Linked DNA regions of Homo sapiens: region 1 is linked to region 2. The links are contacts of gene promoters, found by promoter capture Hi-C in human tissues and cell types (Jung and others, 2019). All regions are on one chromosome and are shown on one strand. Each heading gives the region's core, a stretch centred on a gene start or on the middle of the fragment in contact. The rest is flanking DNA. Distances are from core to core; before and after follow the strand shown. Region 1 holds the start of TFAP2E (transcription factor AP-2 epsilon). Region 2 overlaps AGO3 (argonaute RISC catalytic component 3).

Region 1 (3,305 bases), core at 533-3,032, 490 kb before region 2:
GGAACAGGGCATTGCCACAGACTCCCTCATATATAGATACACACAAACACAATCCTGATCTCTGACCCATCTCGAGCAGGAAAGTTGCAAAGCTTCCCAATTCCGCTTCATCCTCTGGAACCTCGCTGGCGGTTCCAGACTTCAGAAAGTTCTTAATGATGAATCCTTGGCTTCTAGCCTCCTTCTTTCCCCACCACTCCCCAGGCTGAGATCATCCAGCCCTGAGCTCTGCACCTGCCATGTGCCTTCTGGGATACCCACTTGGAACCATATATTCCATGAGTTAATGGTGTCACTATCACCTCCTCTTCTATATCAATAATTTTACCTTAATCTTCTCATTTACTACTTCACTAAAAAGGGACCTAAAAAAACAACTAGTCTTCTCTGCCTTCCCCTACTTTTTTATTGGTGTTGTCGAAGTTGCAGAAACTGAGATCACAGAGGAAACGGGATGTAGCTAGGATCACACAGTTAGGCAGAGTCAGGACTAAATCCAAGCCCCTGAGTCTGAGGCAGTAGAGAATAGTGATTCTGAGCAGAGAGGGGCCAGGGGCAGATCACCCCAGCTCTGCCACTTAGCTGCTTGACCTTGGGCAAGCCATTTAACCTCTCCATGCCTCACCCCTCCCCTGAAAATGGGGATGATATGGGTATCTCTTTCATAGAGCTGCTGTGAGGGTTAAAGAACCCAATATTCGTGAAGCACTTTGCACAGAGGCTGGCACATTCTGTAATAAGTCTGCTGTGATTATTTCTACTTTGCCCTGGTCTGCACATCTTGCTTTTAAAAAACATCTTTCTTCTGCTTTCTTAATTCCTGTTCTCCTTAGCATTCCTCTCATTTGTCCATCTTTAATCCCTGTCTCTGCTTGTCAGGAGGGGAGGGTTGGGTTTGGGGAGAAAGAGAGAGTGACTACAGAGACTGGAACTTGCTTGACAGCCAGGGAGTGCCTGCCATGGTAACACAGGAACATGTAGCCTGCGCATGTTAGTGTAACAATCACACGGCATCCATGCTAGTCAGTTACACACAGTCACTCAACAGTCTCTGGGTATCTCATGCCCACACTCAATCAGCCCAGGACCCTGTGGCTTCAGAAATATCTTGGCCCCTTGTCAGGTGGAGCTCATACCCAAACCCATCCCAGGCAAGTCTCTCTCTCTGTCTGGCCAGCTTCTGTCTCCAACTCCCTCAGAGCCTGGCTTGGCTTGGAAGTTTTCAGCCCAGGAAGCCTGAGAGCGAAGTGGGCACCTTCGAGGGATTTTGATCCAGAACCATTCAGGAAAGACTGTGATGGTAGACCCCCTAAACACACGCACTGACACTGTGTGCGCATGAGCAGATAGGCTGGAGTCTTCAGCTCACAAACTTCTTCCACGTTCCCGATTACCCACCTCATCCAAAGTCTCTTGAGGTGCTTAGAGAAAGGATTGATACCTATTTTACCGAGGAAGCTGAGGCCAGCGAAGAATAGTGCTTTGCTTAAAGGCAAGGATGTGATAGAGCCAGGCAAATGTAGGGCCCTTGCGTCCCAGCCTCGAATATTTCTGTTTCACTGCAGCTGCGAGCTGCGAGCCCAGAAGGCGGCTCTGATCAATGTGGGCTGAATTCACGCCCCCTACCCACCCTACCCGATCCCGCCAAAGCCACTGCCTCCCCTGTGGCAGCCGCTGGGGAAAAGGGAGAGAACTGCCATAGCTTGTCTCTTTAATGCGCGCCCCCGGAGGCCCGGCGCGCCCCCGCCACTATAACTGGAGTGCATGGAGCAGGCTACGCTCAGAGGAGGAAGGGCGGGCGCTGGGCACCCGTTGACCGACTTTTCCAAGTGCGATCAGTGCCCGTCCGTCCTGCCTCCATGGACCCGCCCGGGAACGGCCACCGCTGAGGACCCCACGCCCACTAGGATCCCGGCTGGGTCGCACCCAGCTACCGCACCGTGACCTCCGCGGGCTGTGCCGGCTCCCGGCGCCTCTGCCCGCAGCGCTCGCCGTCGGGCTAGGGCTCCGCCGCCGCCACGCCTCGCGCCCGGCACTCACCGCCCCATGCTGGTGCACACCTACTCCGCCATGGTGAGTAGTCTCGGGCCCGGGACATATTCGGCCGGGGGATCGGGGCGCCTGAGTGCTGGACTTTCCAACCCTCCTGTCCCGCGCTAACGAAATCTCGGAGGGAGGGGGCCGCAGGGACTTCGCCAGCTGAGAACGCGATGCGCAAGTGACCGCTGTCCCCAGCCTGAGGCTCCTGCGCCCGCGGGTGGCTCGGAAATAAACCTCGGGCCCCAAGAAACGGGAGGGACTGCAGCTGAACCCTCCCGAGCTGAGGAGGATCCTTTCAGGCTGGGGTCCTTTCAGCTGCCAGTGGGTCACCTAAGGCACCCCTCTCCTTCCCCAGGAGCGCCCCGACGGGCTGGGAGCAGCTGCCGGCGGGGCCCGCCTGTCGTCTCTGCCCCAGGCGGCCTACGGGCCGGCGCCCCCGCTCTGCCACACGCCGGCCGCCACAGCTGCCGCCGAATTCCAGCCGCCCTACTTCCCGCCGCCCTACCCGCAGCCACCGCTGCCCTACGGTCAGGCGCCCGACGCCGCCGCAGCCTTTCCCCACCTGGCAGGGGACCCATATGGCGGCCTGGCGCCCCTGGCGCAGCCGCAGCCTCCTCAGGCCGCCTGGGCCGCGCCCCGCGCAGCCGCCCGCGCCCACGAGGAGCCTCCCGGCCTGCTGGCACCGCCCGCCCGCGCCCTGGGCCTTGACCCGCGCCGTGACTATGCCACTGCCGTGCCCCGGCTCCTGCACGGCCTGGCCGACGGCGCGCACGGCCTGGCAGACGCACCTCTCGGCCTTCCGGGGCTGGCGGCGGCCCCCGGTCTGGAGGACCTGCAGGTGAGACCCGAGGGATCCGGGATGGGTCGGGACTGGCCGCGGTGGTTTACTACCATGGCTGGAGGCAGAAGGTGACAAATGCAGGAAGCCGACTTTTCTCCCAGCTCGCCACATCTCACTGGTGACTCCGAGGATGTGTCCCACCTCCTGGGTTAGACGTTGCCTGGCCATCAAGGCTGCCTGGCACTGAGTCCGCCAGCAGTGCGTGGGTGGCAGCAACCCTCGGCAGGGACCGAATCACTTCTTTTCTCCCCGCTGCCACGTGTGGCATCCATGGGGCAGCCTGCACCTGGGGCGAAGAGAAGCATAATAGTTACCAGTGTAAGATTCAAAATTCCCTTTTTGCACTGCACAGTGAGATGCCCAGGGCTCCAGCTCAGTGCCTGGACATAGCGATTCCTGGGCCTGCCCGTCGCCGCCCCAAGCG
Region 2 (3,026 bases), core at 60-2,559:
GGATTGTGAGAATATATAGTGAGGGGGGATTTAGGATAAGGCTTCCTTGCTGGGATCCTTGGACAGAAACCTTACAATTGTTTAATATTTGCAGAGTAAAAGAGCAGCTATTGCTATTTGAACCTACAGAAGAGACCTAAGACGAGCGTCTCTGTAATCTAAATTTATATGATAATGTTGTCCCAGACCCAAAGGCACACCTATTCTCAGTAACTTAGAGAAGTCTTGGAAGTTGCTTCTGAATTACAGTAAAGAAATTAAATGAAGTCTTTATCCTTAAATAGGGCCAGGCATTGCTATCAACATAGTGTCTTTGGTTTTCCCCTTTAAATAGAAAACACCAAGCAGGGCCTTTCCAGACAATGTAGTCTTTCCTGTAAAGAAAATGGTTTTGGTGTGGGATTTGGTAAAAACACTGGTTAGTTTGTAATGAAGAAAGAATTTTGGCATAGACAGTCCGACCCAGTTCATGGATACAGTTTGATCCCAGGGAGTTTAACAAAAGGAAGCTTTGGTTTTGCTAGCAACAGACTTGATCTTCTATAGTAATTAATTGCAATTAAGGTTTTCCAGGAGCTTTCTCATTTCTTAGCCCAGGGTCCAACCCCATTCCCTCTTTAAAAAAGAAAGAATAGGCCGGGAGCAGTGGCTCATGCCTGCAATCCCAGCACTTTGGGAGGCCAAGGCAGGTGGATCACAAGGTCAGGAGTTTGAGACCAGCGTGGCCAATATGGTGAAACCCTGTCTCTACTAAAAATACAAAATTAGCTAGGCGTGGTGGCAGGCGCCTGAGGCTGAGGCAGGAGAATCCTGCTAGTCTGAATTACAATAAGGAAATTAAATGAAGGATTTATCTTTAATAGAGCCAGGCATTGCTATCAACATAACATGTTTGGTTTTCCCCTTTAAATAGAAAACACCAAGCAGGGCCTTTCCAGACAAGGTAGTCTGGAACCCAGGAGGCGGAGGTTGCAGTGAGCCGAGATCCCACCATTGCACTCCAGCCTGGGTGGCAGAGTGAGACTCCGTCTCAAAAAAAAAAAAAAGAAGGAATAGGAAAAGGACTTAGAGGCAGTTGATATAGAATTCTACTGGGGGTAAATGACACTCTCAAAATACTTGGGAAAGAAGAATCACATGCCACAAGCTATAGCTTGATTAATATTTTAGCATGTTTTCCATGTTTGTATTCTAAAGTTTGTTTCCTTTGACATTCCATTATCTTACTTACTAGAGTGCCACCATTCTTATTTGTAATACAATCAGTGTTTTATGCCATTTGTGAATCACACAATTGTTCTTTTTTCCCCATCACACACACTCACACACAAACACACACACTGTTAAAAATAAAAGAGGGGAAGGATAAAACAAAAATAGATAGAATGATGATTATTACAATGTAACTTTAACATATATGAAGAGAAATTCTAACTCAGTTAAGTGAGAATTAAGATTGAAAGTATTAATGTTGCAAGTATTATCTCTAGCCATGGAATTTTTTGCTGGCTATAGAATGCTAATGTGAACAGAGTATATATCAGGAATATGATGTATTATGGCACAGTGATAATATTATTGTTGATATTAGCCAGATGTGGTGGTTTGCACCTGTAGTCCGAACTTCTCAGGAGGATGAGGCAGGAGGATAGTTGAGCCCAGGAGTTTAAAGCAAGCCTGGGCAATACAGCAAGACCCCAATCTTTAAAATAAATAAATAAATAAGAATTATTCTTGAAAGTAATATTCTAACCTTCTGCCAACCAACAGAGATCCTCATATTCTTAAAGAAAATTAATATAGCTTATGGTTTTGATAAATTGGACTCTGATTTAAACTTTAAAATGTTATGACTTTTATTCTGATACATGGCTTCTAAAATATGTAAAAAATTATATTGAATGAATTAATACTTAACCTGTTCATTTCTCTTAATTTATGTATTTATTCTGACTTTATTATACAGCTTATGTCTCACATCTGCCTTCTTGATATGTGCAAAATATTGTGTAAAAATAGTTTAAAACTCATCCCAGTTCCTAGTCAAGCGTGGGCTATAAGAGAGAAGGCTTAAGGTGTTCTTTAATGGAGGAACTTTTGAAAGATCACAAATGGAAAAAGCCTATTGAGAATTTATTGCCTTTGAGAGTAGAAAGGGCTCTAGAATATGAGCCAGAGACTTGGAATTTAGTAATAGGTCTCCCACTGATTTGCTCCGTGTCCTTAGGCAATTCGTTTAATCTCTGTGTGCCTAGTTTCCCCTTGTAAATAAGAGTGGTAATACCTGTCCTCACCTACCTCACTAAATTGTTGGAGTTCTTTTGTTCTGAGTCAGGGTCTCACTCTGTTGCCCAGGCTGAACTACAGTAGTGTGATCATAGCTCACTACAGCCTCCAACTCCTGGGCCCAAACTATCCTCCTGCTTCAGCCTCCCAAGTAGCTGGGACTAGAGGTACATGCCACCACACCCAGCTAATTATTTTCTTTTATTGCAGAGATGGGGTCTCACATGTTGCCAAGGCTGATCTCTAACTCCTGAGCTCAAGCAGTCCTCCTGCCTCAGCCACCCAAAGTGCTGGGATTATAGGCATGATCACTAAATTGTTGTAAGAATAAGATAATGTTTGCGGAAGCATTTGAGTTCTCCAAAGGAAAAGCTATTCAGACGTTCAAGATAATAGAAGAGTGTTGTGTGAAGGATTCCTTTCCAGTTTGCCTCTGTGAAAATGTCTTTGTTGTAGATCATTTTATGAAATAGGAATAAGAGAAACATAGGCCTTATCATGGTGTAGTGTTCACTTACAAACATATCCTGTTGTTTCTTCCCTGCAAGATATCCAGCACACAGGCTGAATTTTTCTTTATAATAATCCTTGGCAAAAGCATAACTTTTCAAAAACCAAATGATTTTAGTGGTGCTATGGCAGCTGCAGTTTTGAGTTAGATTAATGTGGTGAAAACCATCAAATACTTAGAAATTGACTGGGTGCGGTGGCTCATGCCTGTAATCCCAGCACTTTGGGAG

The links. Contacts are between HindIII fragments. The study calls those that stand out against the background at their distance.
Region 1: a contact is called between the fragment with the promoter of TFAP2E here and a fragment that was not itself captured in region 2, in 2 of the 25 tissues and cell types used here (H1 embryonic stem cells and liver).

The regions. Positions count from the first base shown.
Region 1 is chr1:35,571,532-35,574,836 of GRCh38, forward strand. TFAP2E (transcription factor AP-2 epsilon) reads left to right here and starts at 1,783. Exons shown (of 7, transcript NM_178548.4): 1 at 1,783-2,073; 2 at 2,396-2,878. The coding sequence starts at 2,047. TFAP2E-AS1 (TFAP2E antisense RNA 1) reads right to left here. Exons shown (of 3, transcript NR_183387.1): 2 at 2,829-3,167. RefSeq lists enhancers at 1,747-2,246, 2,488-3,234. The HindIII fragment of the contact is 7,667 bases long and covers 1-3,305 here.
Region 2 is chr1:36,066,794-36,069,819 of GRCh38, forward strand. AGO3 (argonaute RISC catalytic component 3) reads left to right here. Exons shown (of 19, transcript NM_024852.4): 19 at 1-3,026. Among named protein-coding and RNA genes, the nearest start is that of TEKT2, 16 kb to the right of the region's middle. The HindIII fragment of the contact is 8,465 bases long and covers 1-3,026 here.